Regions from separate parts of the Homo sapiens genome. Here regions 2 and 3 are each linked to region 1. Evidence: promoter capture Hi-C in human tissues and cell types (Jung and others, 2019). All regions are on one chromosome and are shown on one strand. The core of a region is centred on a gene start or on the middle of the fragment in contact, and the rest is flanking DNA. Distances in the headings are between cores, read along the strand shown.

Region 1 (5,157 bases), core at 1,341-3,840:
TCAGCATCTGTAGAAGGTAGTTGGACTATATGATCTCTTGACTTCCAGCTAAATATAAGACTATGATTCCATAATAATATAGTTCCTCTATTCATTTATAACTCATTAACAGAAAAATCGAGCCACGTGCAAAGAATTCTTGTAGTCATCAATGAATAACACGTGGTTATTGTGTTACGATGCCTATAAAATAAAAAAAATTATCTGGAAGAGGGAAACGGGATAGAGCAGATCAGTGTGACTTGAACAGAGACTATGCCAGCCTCCCTATTCCAAATTGGAATACTGGCTCTGTGATGTGCTATAACTGTATTGTGAGGCTTATTCTAATGATTTTGGTAAATGTTAAAGACTCCTCCTGGGGTTGTGTTGAAATAACACACTGAATGGAGATGGTAGTTCATAAATTCTTTTTCTAGTGGTGGCAGTTAGTGTTATTGTAGTCTTTTTTTTTTTTTTTTTTTTTTTTTGAGATGGGATCTTTCTCTGTCTCCCAAGCTGGAGTGCAGTGGTGGGATCTTGGCTCACTGCAACCTCCACCTCTTGGGTTCAAGTGATTCTCCTGCCTCAGCCTCCCAAGTAGCTGGGATTACAGGCGTGCAACACCACACCCAGCTATTTTTACTTTTTTTTTTTTTTTTTTTGAGACAGAGTTTCGCTTTTGTTGCCCAGGCTGGAGTGCAATGGCGTGATCTCACCTCACTGCAACCTCCACCTCCTGGGTTCAAGCAATTCTTCTGTCTCAGCCTCCTGACTAGCTGGGATTACAGGCATGTGCCACCATGCCCGGCTAATTTTGTATTTTTAGTAGAGACGGAGTTTCTCCATGTTGGCCAGGCTGGTCTCGAACTCCCGACCTCAAGTGATCTGCCTGCCTCAGCCTCCCAAAGTGCTGGGATTACAGGCATGAACCACTGCACCCGGCCTAATTTTCATATTTTTAGTAGAGACGGAGTTTCACCATGTTGGCCAGGCTGGTCTTAAACTCCTGACCTCAAGTGATCCACCCACCTCGGCCTCCCAAACTGCTGGGATTACAGATGTGAGCAACCGCGCCTGGCCAAACTTTTTTTCTTTTTTTTTTTAAGACTCTTACAAGACTAACTCATAGCAATATTCTGAAGCTGTGACAAGTTAGTATCCTGGAGGCTATCTTGGTAGAGGTTTCATGATGCCACCCTGATGCCACCTCTCTTCCTCTTTACAGTAGTATAACTCTTTGCTCTTATTTTTTCATAGCTTAAATTCTCATCCTAGCAATTCACGTATGCTTTACAAGGGATGTATAGGATTGAAACATTTTGAATTAATGATTTCAGAAAGGTGAGTTTTGACTAGGAGAAAGGAAGGTGGAGGAAAAAACATTCTCAGCCAGAAAACTTCTTTTTCCCAAAGTTCAAGATAAGAAAACATCCAACATCCTGTTGGAGGTAAGTGGGAAAGAAGTAGCAGTTGGAGCCTTGAAAGTCAGAAACCAATGAACGGAACAGCCTGAGTAATGGACCCGACTCGTGGAAGGCTGCCAAGCTGGAGAGTGAGGGGACGGAGACAGAAATATGGCGTGATGAGTTCGTGGGAAGGTCAAACTCGCTGGCCTTTGAGGAAGAGCTTTTGAGGTGCAACTTCCTGGCATGCAGTGAGCAGAAGGCAGGCCAGGACAGGAGCTGACTCCCGAGCAGGGGACACAGTGAATTTGTGGCATTTGTTACCAATCTCGGAGTTCACTGTGCACAGTCTCCACACTAGGCATTTACTTTTTCATATGTCCGAAAAAATGTCTGCACACTTCATTTCTGTCCAGTAAGAACTGATAATCAGGGATTTGAAGGGGCCTAGTTTGGAAATTTTCAATGGGTGAAAATAAGTGAGCAAAATTACATTTATACTAAAATATAATTCTTTCCATCTGCTCCATAGTGGGATAGCCTCTTGAGGCAACTTCCAATTAGAATGTCATTTTAGATGCTTTCCAAGATGGCAGATGGGTGAGTACTAGGGTGTGCAGGGAAGATCAATAAACAGCTCTGGCAATTCATCGTGCGCCTAACACCAAGGAATACTTCAGTGGAAGAGCTCTCATTTTGTTGGGATGAATAAAATTAAATAAAAGTACACAGTACCCAATAAAGGAACAAAAGCTTAGGCTTTGGTCAAGCAGAACAAAAGGGGCTAATGAGAAAAGGACTATGTATTACAGTTTTCTTCTCTCAGTTCTCAACTAGGTTTTATTAGTGGAGTTCCCAAAAGATTTGGACCAAATTTCCAATTCAGATATTATTAGAGATCATCAAAACTCAAATCTCTTTACTGGTTTACACCAAATCACCCAAGCTTCCAGCCTAAAACCCACATGCTCACATGGTTCCACAGTGCTGTTTATGTACAATAACCAGTTCTCAAAATGGTAATCCTGTTAGAAGCCAGAATCCTCAGCCTCTAGCATGTGTGCTTTTCACAGAGATAAGTCTCAAAGTTTGGGGTTGGTGAGGAGCCCAGTATACAGGAGTTCCACATTAAGTCATAATTGGCTTTGTGTTGGACAGTGTATGTCAGCTGGTGAAATCAGGCACAGAAGAGATAAGGGTTTCTTGTCATAACAACATAGGAACAGGTCACCCGCGTGTTACTCAAAACTGTAGGACGGCAGTGAGGGCTTTGCTAATCCCAGAACAGAGGTGTAACCTGGCTGCATATCCAGCCTCGAGAAAATGTCTACAGCAGATCTGATGGAGAACCTCAGGGAGGAACTCACCTGTTTCATCTGCTTAGACTATTTCAGCAGCCCAGTGACCACCGAGTGTGGGCACAGCTTTTGTCTGGTGTGTCTCCTCAGGAGCTGGGAGGAACATAACACACCTTTATCTTGTCCTGAGTGCTGGAGGACCTTGGAGGGCCCGCATTTCCAGTCAAACGAGCGTCTGGGGAGGCTGGCCAGCATCGCCAGGCAGCTCCGGTCCCAGGTGCTGCAGAGCGAGGATGAGCAGGGCAGCTACGGGAGGATGCCCACCACTGCCAAGGCGCTCTCCGATGACGAGCAGGGTGGAAGCGCCTTCGTAGCCCAGAGCCATGGTGCAAACAGAGTGCATCTCTCCAGCGAGGCTGAGGAGCATCACAGAGTAAGACAGCTGCTCAGCATGAACCCCACGACTCATCGCAGCTAACTCCGTTAGCTTTCCTGACGTTTCCTAACGTCCTCTGTGGGGGACAGTCACGAGGGCCCATCTGAGCACCACATCACAAACTGGCGTGGGTCCAGTTTACACCCTTTTTTTTCCCTTTTTTTGTTTTTGAGACAGAGTTTTGCTCTGTTGCCCAGGCTGGAGTGCAGCAGTGCGATCTCAGTCACTGCAACCTCCGCCTCCCAGGTTCACGCCATTCTCCTGCCTCAGCCTCCCCAGTAGCTGGGACTACAGTCACCCACCACCACGCCCGGCTAATTTTTTGTATTTTTAATAGAGACGGGGTTTCACCATGTTGGCCAGGCTGGTCTTGAACTCCTGACCTCAGGTGATCCGCCTGCCTCGGCCTCCCAAAGTGCTGGGATTACAGGCGTGAGGCGCCGCACCCAGCCTGCCCTTTGTTTTAGAGGCCTAGGACTGCGCAGTTACTGGTCTTCAAAGCCCCTTCATGACCTGGGACTCTGCTCATTTGCCAGAAAGGGTTTGTTTCTATTGCAGGAGAAACTCCAGGAAATCCTGAATCTTTTGCGTGTAAGGAGAAAGGAAGCTCAGGCTGTACTAACCCATGAGAAGGAGAGAGTGAAACTGTGCCAGGTCGGTGTCTGTCTGACTTTTGCTGCTTGTATATGACCCCATAAGGGGGACTAAAGGGAAATTTAGTGAAATATCAGGAAAAAAAAAAGACAAATTTTTCCAGTCTCACCTCTAAAATATGCAGTTTCCTTGCATTGGGCTGCCTTCTTCTGAGCGTCCTCGTGGGAGTCTCAAGGCTCAGCTGCAATTCGCCCCCTCTAGGAGCCTCCTTTGCATAACTAGACAACGCTGTGGCTTCCTCTATGATGGCTCTGGTAGAATTATTTAAAACACAAGTGATACTTATAGACATGTAACATGAGACGGAAAGCGATTTTAAAAAGAAATATCTCAAAAACATGGAGGGGAAAATGCAAATTAAAAAAAATAAAGAGACAGAGATATAAAAGCAAAATAGTGGTTTAAATGATACCTGACAAGTCCTCAAGGTTGGTCACGGACTTGGATTTGAGCTCTCCAGCAGTCAAAGCAAAGGACTAAATATCAAATTATATATTTTTTAAAACCATGTATCTGATTCTCCCAATAGACTTTGAAATCTGTTTTTTTTTTTTTTTTTTTGGAGATGGAGTCTCTCTCTGTCGCCCAGGCTGGAGTGCAGTGGCGCGATCCCGGCTCACTGCAACCTCCACCTCCCGGGTTCAAGTGATTCTCCTGCCTCAGCCTTCTGAGTAGCTGGGATTACAGACGTGTGCCACCATGCCCAGCTAATTTTGTATATTTGTGGAGATGGGGTTTTACCATGTTAGCCAGGCTGATCTCGAACTCCCGACCTCAGGTAATCCACCTGTCTCGGTCTCCCAAAGTGCTGGGATTACAGGTGTGAGCCACCGTGCTTGGCCGTAGACTTTGAATTCTTAAGTGAGAGTATTTGCCATGTATGTTTCTGTTCCTTTTTGGTTATCTGACACCTACTTTCATTGAATAAATATTTGTTGAATAAATGAACACACATTTTTCATAATTTTTCTTAATTTTGTTTTATTTGTATCATAGTCCTGATCACTACTTGTCATATTTCTTACTCATTTTTGGTTTTCTCCACTAGAACGACCGCCTCCTGGGAATGGAGATTTTGGTTTTGTTTACTATTGTATCTATAGCGCACATACCTCCGAAAACATCAACCTCTACACCCAGCGCATCAACAGATTAAATGTATTATATGTTGGATTTCAGGAATTGTTGCCATGAAACTCTAGGACTTGGCCAGGCATGGTGGCCCACACCTGTAATCCCAGCACTTTGGGAGGCTGAGGAGGGTGGGTCACCCGGTCAAGAGACTTGAGACAATCCTGACCAACATGGTGAAACCCCATCTTTACTAAAAATACAAAAATTAGCTGGGCGTGGTGGCACACTCCTAGACTATAGTCCCAGCTAC
Region 2 (5,157 bases), core at 1,499-3,998, 1.7 Mb after region 1:
TGTCCCTCGGCTCTCTCCTATTCTCTGTGCCGTGTCCCTCGGCTCTCTCCTATTCTCCGTGCCGTGTCCCTCGGCTCTCTCCCATTCTCCGTGCCGTGTCCCTCGGCTCTCTCCTATTCTCCGTGCCCTGTCCCTCGGCTCTCTCCCATTCTCTGTGCCCTGTCCCTCGGCTCTCTCCTATTCTCCGTGCCCTGTCCCTCGGCTCTCTCCCATTCTCCGTGCCGTGTCCCTCGGCTCTCTCCCATTCTCCGTGCCGTGTCCCTCGGCTCTCTCCTATTCTCCTTGCGTGTCCCTCGGCTCTCTCCCATTCTCCGTGCCGTGTCCCTCGGCTCTCTCCTATTCTCTGTGCCGTGTCCCTCGGCTCTCTCCCATTCTCCGTGCCCTGTCCCTCGGCTCTCTCCTATTCTCTGTGCCCTGTCCCTCGGCTCTCTCCCATTCTCCGTGCCGTGTCCCTCGGCTCTCTCCCATTCTCCGTGCCCTGTCCCTCGGCTCTCTCCCATTCTCCGTGCCCTGTCCCTCGGCTCTCTCCCATTCTCTGTGCCGTGTCCCTCGGCTCTCTCCTATTCTCTGTGCCGTGTCCCTCGGCTCTCTCCCATTCTCCGTGCCCTGTCCCTCGGCTCTCTCCCATTCTCCGTGCCGTGTCCCTCGGCTCTCTCCCATTCTCCGTGCCGTGTCCCTCGGCTCTCTCCCATTCTCCGTGCCGTGTCCCTCGGCTCTCTCCCATTCTCTGTGCCGTGTCCCTCGGCTCTCTCCCATTCTCCGTGCCGTGTCCCTCGGCTCTCTCCCATTCTCCGTGCCGTGTCCCTCGGCTCTCTCCCATTCTCTGTGCCGTGTCCCTCGGCTCTCTCCTATTCTCCTTGCATGTCCCTCGGTTCTCTCCTATTTTCATATTCTCCATCCTGTGTCCCTCAGCTCTTTCATGTTTTCCATGCTGTGTCCCTCAGCTCTCTCCTATTTTGGTTGACAAGAATAGCATTAGATTAATTTTCAGCTTTCAAAAAAAAGAGACAAACTTAAAATTTTTTAATATACCTCTTATAATTCTCAAAAACTACATTTTTTAAAAAATGTGCCTCTGGAATCAAATGATTTAAAAGTCTAATTTTTACACTTTTAGTAAATAAAACTAGTAAAGAAATGTACTCTTCTGTGGTCTTTAAAACTCCTCTTAGCAAGCTATTTTTATAAATAGGCTGTCCTGACTAATGATTCTTGGGCTATAAGGTGGCGTGCCCACCTCCCTCCCATTCAGTTCTTGGGCACCTTGTCTCTGATGAGAAGATCAATAATAATTAGGAGATGATTTTTAAGTTTACTTAAGTGCACTGCAATTCCTCTGGCTTCTTTACATAACTGTGAATGATGGTGACCCTGAGACAGGACGCTGGGGTTCACTAGGAGAAGTGACACCTGCCGTATAGTCACACATGCCCGCCCTACCCCAGTTTCATGCAGTGCTATCACAATGGCTGTGAGGGGGTGTATATCCTTAATTCCAGACCACAACTACTAGCAAAGCGACTGGGGGTCCACAGTCATGCAGGGGAAAGCACAGGACTTGGAGAAGTGGTGGCCAAATGACTAACTCAAGGCTGGTGGCCCACAAATCTGTCTTCAAATCCATGACAGGGACCCTTAAGGGGAATAGAAAAGACAATTGTCAATGAGAGTTGTATGCCTATCCCCCAGCACCCTGTGGACTTGCTGAGAACAAGGGCCTTGTTTTCCTCGCCCTTTGTGGCTGACACGGTGCTGGACACAGCTGCAGCCTATAACTTAGGGTGATTCGATCAACGATCTTGTCTAGAGTGGGAGATAGCTGGGAGCAGTGGTGAAATAAGAACATGAAAACGAAGGTTTTGTTAGCAGAGAAAGGTATGGAAGACAGGCCTTAATGGGAATAACAACAGGAGATTGCTGATATCTGAGGGATTGATGGGAGTGACAAGAAAAAAGAAGTAAACAAGCGGAGTCATGGGAAAGGCACCAAGGACAGGTTTCTTAAAAAGAGCTCTGAAGCTCACCAGTAGCAACAAAATGGTGGCATATTAAAAGCTGAGACAGTTTCAACCAAGGGGGTGTTTAATCATCATATATGGGAAGTGCTAGAATAGTTTCTGGTGGGGAATCCATTTTTTAGTTCAAAATTGATGTTGACCTCTGAACATCTAGTCCCAATCAACAACCCTTGAAGCTTCAGCAGACACTATGTCAAAGGCTGCTTAGAGAAGACATCCAGGAGACACTATGTCAGAGGCTGTTCAGAGGAGACACCCAGCAGACACTATGTCAGAGGCTGTTCAGAGGAGACACCCAGCAGACACTATGTCAGAGGCTGCTCAGAGAAGACACCCAGCAGACACTACGTCAGAGGCTGCTCAGAGGAGACACCCAGCAGACACTACGTCAGAGCCTGTTCAGAGGAGACACCCAGCAGACACTATGTCAGAGGCTGCTCAGAGAAGACACCCAGCAGACACTATGTCAGAGGCTGCTCAGAGGAGACACCCAGCAGACACTATGTCAGAGGCTGCTCAGAGAAGGGACCCAGCAGACACTATGTCAGAGGCTGCTCAGAGAAGGGACCCAGCAGACACTATGTCAGAGGCTGCTCAGAGAAGACACCCAGCAGACACTACGTCAGAGGCTGTTCAGAGGAGACACCCAGCAGACCCTATGTCAGAGGCTGCTCAGAGAAGAGACCTAGCAGACACTATGTCAGAGGCTGCTCAGAGAAGAGACCCAGAAGACACTATGTCAGAGGCTGCTCAGAGAAGGGACCCAGCAGACGCTATGTCAGAAGCTGCTCAGAGAAGAGACCCAGAAGACACTATGTCAGAGGTTGCTTAGAGAAGGGACCCAGCAGACGCTATGTCAGAGGCTGTTCAGAGGAGACACCCAGCAGACACCATGTCAGAGGCTGTTTAGAGAAGACACCCAGCAGACACTATGTCAGAGGCTGTTCAGAGGAGACACCCAGCAGACACCATGTCAGAGGCTGTTTAGAGAAGACACCCAGCAGACACTATGTCAGAGGCTGCTTAGGCAAGAGACCCAGCAGACACTATTTCAGAGGATGTGTAGGGAAGACACGCAGCCAGAAGGGTTTGGTTATTGACAAGATAAAATGACCAACCTGTGTTTTTAGGATGCATTGTATGAAATCACCTTCCTTAGAAATATTTGATAAAATATGCCATCTTTTATGCTGAGCAAAAGATATCAGACACAAATGAATACATATTGTGTGATTCCACTTATATGAAGTTTGAAAACCAGCAAAACCAATCTATAGGGACACAGAGCAATTGGTGGTTTTCTGGGGCTGAAAAATTACTGGTGAAGACTGACTGACAAGGGGCAAGAGGGAACTTCTAGAGTTACAGAAATGTTCTACACCTTGGGTACACCAACACATACATTTGTCAAAACACACTGTACTTGATCTTTAAAATGTAGGCCTTTTGTTGTATATAAATTATATACCTCTTAAGTTGATTTTAAAAAAAACTGTCTTTACTTAAATTTAGACTTTGAAACCCTTCAGAAAGTCCTAAAAATTCTGTACAATTAGTATTGAACACTAGGATACACATGGGCAACCAATCCTAGACAGCTCAGCACAGGACAAACAGAAAGGTCATCCTGCAACATGCAATCTAGATGACGAAGAAAGATAACTCAAATGAGACACCTCAGAGACCTCTGTTCTCCAGTTCTGGCTCTGATTTTCATGAATTACAAAGTAAGGAAGATTCAGAGTTAATAGCATAGCCACAATGTAAAATATATTTAGTTTGTTGAATATTAACATTTTACCATAACTATAATGTACATTTAGTTTGTTGATCATTAATGTTTGTTTCCTGTATGAAAAAAATGTATGCATATATAATTCTCGTTCTACATCTAGGTTCATTCATTCTATCTACTAATCCTTTTATGGCCTTTTAAAAGCTGGTTAAGGAATTTATAAGATGACTGTCTAGACCAGAGGAACTCAACTGACAATGGAAGTGATGATTCTGGCAGCTAAGCTGGGTAGATCTTACTCTTTACAGACTGGTGTTTCAAAAGGTCTTGCTCCTGTCGAGGGGTGAGTTACTTCACCTCTAGTACAAGCCCAAGGTATCCTAAACCAAACAGCACTAACAGGGCCCACCCGTCTCTGGGCAGCAAAATATTTTTGTTTGTTGGTGTTGCTATTTTTGTTTATAAATGTGTCGATTTTGTCTAATCTGTAGACCATTCTTTACTGAACATGAGGAACAAGGCATCTTTCAGATGTAGCAGAGTTCAGTGCAAAAGCACTGAGCTGACTAATAATTTGGAGACTTGGGTTCCAATACTGGTTCATCATTAACCAGAGGCATTGCTTCAGGCAAGTCAAGGGACCTCTTTAGATCTAATCTATAAACTAGGGGAAAAAGAATAAATGAAATATAAGAAAAGATTCCTTTAGCTATAAAAGTTTATGATTCTATATGTCAAAACCACCAGAAAATCTTAGACCTCACCTGGAACTTTAAAGACCAGAGTTCCCTACGAAGGGATTCAGGACCCTTCAGGACACATATAAACTCACAACAATGGACCTCATATGCCTGGAGGCTTAATTGACCTAGGTTGTTGCAAACGACCAAGCTTCTTTCTCTTATAAGGCTGAATAGAATTTCATTGTATGTGTATAGACCATGTTTTATTTATCCAATCATCTGATGGTCACTTAAGTTGATACCGTAACTTGGCTATTGTGAACAGAGCTGCAATGAACACGGGAGTGCAGACATCTCTCTGGCATAGATATGGGTTTTGTGTCAATACACACAAGCGGGATTGCCAGGTCATATGGTAATTCTATTTTTAGTTTTTTGAGGAACCTCCATACAGTTTTCCATAAAAGTTGTACTAATTTACATTCCCAAGAACAGAGTACAAAAGTTCTCTTTTCTCCACATTCTCACCAAAACTTTTTAATCCCTTCTCTCTTTTTTTTTAAATAGCCATGTTGAGAGGTGTGAGGTGCTGTCTCATTGTGGTTTTAACTTGCATTTCCCTAATGATTAGTGATATTGAGTTTTTTCTTTTTACATATATTTGTAGGTAATTTGTATATCTTCTCCTGAAAAATGTTTATTCAGGTCCTATGCCCATTTT
Region 3 (5,157 bases), core at 1,215-3,714, 1.0 Mb after region 1:
AGTTTTTCCATGATTCCTCTTTCTAGTAATAATTAATTACCTAGTGGGTTTATTTATTTAGAGTTTTGAGGATTGCAAGTATGTTTCTTTTTGTAAATAGATACTAATTCTTCTAAGGATTCAAGTAGACATACAGAATGAACATTCCCTTAGTTTTTAAATTTTATTATAAATGGATTCCAGATCAGCATTTCCCTTGTCCATGTATATGTGGCTGTCATCAGGAGGAGATGAATAGCTATTAACTATAGTAGTGACAATGCCAATGGTAATAATATTAATCCTTTAATATCCACTATGTGCCTTTTTCTATGCTAAATATTTTATATTTATATGATCACATTCAACATTTTGTGTGTAATTTTACACTTAGCTTTCTACTTTTTCTGAGTCTGATCTCCCCAAAGGTATCTTACCACAACAAGTACTGGAGTAAGAACTATTTTAAATGCCAGTTTTAAACATGTCTCAAATTCCTCTGGCTTAAACATTCTCTTATTCTATCTGTTTAGAATAAATATATTTTTATTAAAGAAATCTCTTTTTAATAAATGACTATTTTTTTTCTAATTTCCTCTTCCTCTTTTTTCTCCCCTTAGTGGTGTATGGGTCTACCAGGTGCCTAACCTTCCCTGTAACTATGCCCAGGGGAGCCTATTCCAGTCACTAATGCTGCTAACGAGTCACTCTAAAATGTGGTGAGTAAAGCAACAGTGACTGTATTGTGTCTCATAGCATCTGCGCTTTGAAGACGGAAGAGCTCCTCTGGCTTGTGGTTTCTCAATGAATTGCCCACAGGTGGTGGCTGAAGCTGAGACCACAGGAAAGGAATGGCTACGTCCTGGCCAGGCACCCAGGCACCTCTATCTGATCTCTCTGCATGGATTAGTTAGGGCTTCCTCCCCAGCTAATGGGGAAGGTGCTTGAAGGCAGAAATCTGTTTCCATGAAAACCGAGCTCTTCAAAAGCAAGTATCCCCGTGGTCATCACCTTTCTGGACCCAGCCCAGGGAAGCACACAAGTTACTTCTGCTGCACTGTCCAGGTTACAGGCAAGTTACAGGCTCACTCAGATTCAAAGGAAGGGAACATAATTCAGAATGCTCAGTGCAAATATTGTCAAGATCCCTTTGCAAGAGCATGTGGAATGGGAAATATCCCTGTGGCCACTTTTGCATAATACAGTCTGCCTTAGGGGCTCTGGTCATCGGTGGCCTGAGCCACAGAGGCTGCTCTTGTCAGTAGATTGGCCTGTGGTGATGTGCCACTGATCCTGTCTGGCGTCTGCCTCTGGCTCCCACGTTTCTCTTTTCCACAAGCTCCTGGTCATACCCTGAGGGCTCACTGTCCTCTCAGCACCCCTGCTTTGATCACCAGGGCACATGGAACCCCACACATTCCACTCACACTGTGGACAACTAGGAGTGTTATCTCAGGCTAACAGGTGTGTCCTGCCAATCCAAAGGAGGGGTTTCTGTTATTACCAGGGAAAGAGGTTTAACTGCCCAATGGGTTTTTCCTGCTTGCTGCACAAAGACAGACCACATTATTACAGTAAAGAAAGAGTTTAATTGATGTGAGACTGGCCAGGCCATGTGGGAGACAGAGTTATTACCTAAATCAATCTCTTTGAAGGCTCTCATAGGTTAAGGGTTTTTCAAAGGCAGTTTAGAAGGGGCAGCGGTGGCTAGGAAATGGATGTTTGCTGCTAATTGGTTGGGGTGGAGATGAACTCGTAAGCAGTTGAAGCTGCCTCTTGAGCTGAATTGCTCCTGAGTGGTGGGTGCTACATGGGTGGTTTGGCAGGTCCAGTTGGAGCCATCTGTGTCAGACATGCAAAAAACCTGAAAAGCCATTTCAAAAGTCCAGTCTACTATAGTGATGGTATCTGCAGGAGTAATTGGGGAAGTTGTTTATCTTGTGACCAGTCTATACCTTAGCAGAATTTAAGCTCTTTTTCTCCCACTAGCCCAATGGTCTCTCATTAGCTTTACAAAGATGGTTGAGTTCTGAGGAAAGGCTGTTATCATTTAAATTATAACCTAATTGTCTTCCAAATTTACCTAGGCCCAGGAATAATTAAGGCAACTGGAAAGCTAGAGGCAAAAGGAGGCGTTGGCAAGATCAGACCTCCCTTACTGCCATAATTTTCTCATGGACATAATTTTTTTGAAGGCCATTTCAGAGGCCGTGTAACCTTGGATGGCTTAGAACCCTTCATGACTCTGTGGAGGGTTCTGTATCCTCTGTCATTAGAGAGACCCTGTGATGGAGGAAAAGGGAAAGAAGCTCTGCTATTTTCCTTCTCACTCTTCCCTACATATGTCCGCATCTCTAAACAAGATCAAACCTATGGTTATTAACACATAATAAAACATCATATGCATTCATTCATCCAACGGATCGAATTCATTGAGCACCGGTCTGTGGCAGGCTCTGTCCCTATGAAGCCTGCATGCGAATGGAAAAGACTGACCTGGGAAGGATGGACATAGTAAATAAGTAATTGAAGGCCATGGGAAGGGATGAGGAGACAGAGCACAACAGAGGCTGACATTTTGGAGACAGTGGTGAGGAGAACCTCTCCAAAAAGGTGATTGTGAGCAGAGATCTCAGAAAGTTCCAAAGCAAATTGTGTGCAGATCTGGAGGAAGAGCCCTTGAGGCAGAGTGCAGGGACCTGCTATGAACACAGGGTCAGGTTGCTAGAAGAAAGACAGTTGTAAACAGCTCACATTGATTGAGGGGGAGATGGGCAAGAGAAGATGTTTGCAGAGTTGGAGACAGCAGGGATCCCCTGATGCCACGCAGGCCGCTTTCGGGAGTCGGGATTTTATTCACTGAGGAGGCATGTCATGTGTGCCATTCTCAGCTCACCTTTTTCTCTCTAACTTATTTCCAGGGCCTGTCTATGTGGGTGTCATAGACCCAGGCCATCCTGTTGTCGAGGCCAGGGGAAAGCTTCCCCTTTATGCTCTGCAGGTTTGCTGAAAAATCAACTCACGAAGGAGACTAATAGGAGAAAAGACAGGCAAATTTATTTGATCTTAGTGGAGTCTTCAGACTGCGGACCCAGAGATGCAGGGGAAATTGTCCATTTTTATGCTTAGGTTCAACAACGTATGGACAGCTGTGTGGAAATAGGATTAAACAAAAAGGGTGTGATCTAGTGCTGAGACACTGGGTGGACTGAGACACTGAGTGGGGGCACCCAGCAAGGCCTGACATGCAGATTCTTCCTGGCCTCTCTGGGCATCATCCCTCCCCTCTGGTGTGGGGCAGGGCCCTCTCTGCAATGGGGTCTCATGACCTGCAGTCAAAGTCGGTCGGAGAGTGTCTTTATTGCCAGTTTTGCATGGAATTGAGGGGGCAAAGCTGGAATAATATTTTAGGTTTTATGGCTGGCATAGGGCAAAAGGGATTCTGGTTTCTATAACCTGCTTTGTGGAAGAGGGATTCCAGTTTCTATGGCTGGCCTCAGGGGAGAATGAGACTGAGATAGGTGGGCAGGAGACAGGGAAAAACATTTGTTTCTGAGGACTTCATTTTGGGTTATTGTTTTCTGAGTCCCAATACTATATACTACTTTATCTTACAAATGTACTACAATTTTTTATATTGTCCTCTTATTGATAAAATATAGGTTCTTCATACTGTTCACAAAGATGGTTTATTGTTATTTATGCTGAAAGTTTCTGTCTTAAAATAAGACTGACTTATTTTCTTTTTTATTAATATTGTAAAATAATATAGTTTCTATGACCTGGTTTTGTGGGTTCTAATTTTTCATATTTTTACTTTGTTTTCTATTTCTCCTTCCTCTGCCCACTGTTGTATAGATTGCATTTCCTTAATTCTTAATTCCCATACTGGCTTTCTCCGGTTTGAAATTAAAGCAGTATACTTTTATATTTACCCTGAAATGGTCAACATGCATGCTTATCTTTGGAAAGACTAAAGTGGCTCAGTATCTTTGTCATCTTCCCAAACAATACAATTCTATACTCTTCTCATCTTCCATATTTTTGAGATGTAGAATTTAATATTCATTTTTCTAAAAGTTTCACCAAAATTGTCTTAAGGTTTCTTTTCAATTCCAATCAATACCAATCTAAATGTAACAAGTTTTACCAACTTCTATGTATACAATTACTTTCTATCTATTTCTTCTTCTGGGTTTTTCATTGTTGAAGCACATCTTTGGGGAGAATTTTCAGCAAGCCTCTGTGAGCGGTAAACTCAGTCTTTCATGTCTGAAATTGCCTTTGTTTTTCCTTACAATGATTGCATTGCCACCTGACATTTACCAATGCCAGAGACAAATCTGTTGTCTTGTTCCTTTGCAAGTAACCTGCAGTGTTCCTCTGTTTTGGATGGTTCAACTCTGTACCGCAGTGTGTCTAAGTGGGAATTTGCTTTTATTCGTGCTGCTTGAAACTTAATATAAATCTTCAGTCTGAGCACTCACATCTTTCTTTAATTCTAGAAAACTCTCATCAAATTTATTTAGAAGATTGCATCTTAACCATTGTCTCAATTCCCTGCTTTGAACTTCGAATAGATAATGGCTGGAGCCTTGGCTTCTCTCCTCCACTTTTCAAATTCTCTTTCATATTTTCTATCTCTTTTCCTCACTGGTCTCTATATTCAGTCATTTCCTCTTGTCTATATCTCAGTTAACTAAGTCCACTAATTTACTAAGCCCACTAATACTTTATTCAATTTATATAATGTGTAAAATATCTGATTTTTTAAAACACGAAATTGTATTTTTAAGAAAATCTTGTTATTATTTTATATTTTTTCCTTTCTCTTTGATATTTCAAATCTCTTCAGAAGTTCACTTTTGGAATATAGGCCTCCTGTTTTTATGCTGACGACCTCTCGTTAGGAATTCTCTCCCATCCATATCGTGTGAAATTGGACTCTATCATTCTTGGCATGTGCTTGGAATCCCAGTTCTGTGTGGATCCTGTTGTGTCTTTTGAACAATGCGCAGTTTTTCTAGTTTCCACTTCACAGAGGAAGTACAAGGGTTCAAACATTTGCCCTTTTACCAACTCTCAGGGTGGTTCTGGGCAAATTACTGAAATTCTCTAATTCTGATTTCTAATTCTCATTTCTGGTTAATTCTCTAAAGGCTTCTCTGCTTGGTCATG

The links. Contacts are between HindIII fragments. The study calls those that stand out against the background at their distance.
Region 2: a contact is called between a fragment that was not itself captured here and the fragment with the promoter of TRIML1 in region 1, in 1 of the 25 tissues and cell types used here (dorsolateral prefrontal cortex).
Region 3: a fragment that was not itself captured here is called in contact with the fragment with the promoter of TRIML1 in region 1 in 1 of the 25 tissues and cell types used here (lymphoblastoid cells).

What each region holds. Positions count from the first base shown.
Region 1 is chr4:188,136,851-188,142,007 of GRCh38, forward strand. TRIML1 (tripartite motif family like 1) reads left to right here and starts at 2,591. Exons shown (of 6, transcript NM_178556.5): 1 at 2,591-3,116; 2 at 3,678-3,773. The coding sequence starts at 2,709. The HindIII fragment of the contact is 25,840 bases long and covers 1-5,157 here.
Region 2 is chr4:189,846,338-189,851,494 of GRCh38, forward strand. All of the region lies in intron 3 of FRG1-DT (FRG1 divergent transcript), which reads right to left. Among named protein-coding and RNA genes, the nearest start is that of LINC01596, 33 kb to the right of the region's middle. RefSeq lists enhancers at 1-414, 415-1,128. The HindIII fragment of the contact is 4,445 bases long and covers 527-4,971 here.
Region 3 is chr4:189,176,571-189,181,727 of GRCh38, forward strand. No RefSeq gene overlaps it. Among named protein-coding and RNA genes, the nearest start is that of LINC02508, 400 kb to the left of the region's middle. RefSeq lists enhancers at 1,319-1,945, 1,946-2,572. The HindIII fragment of the contact is 5,442 bases long and covers 1-5,157 here.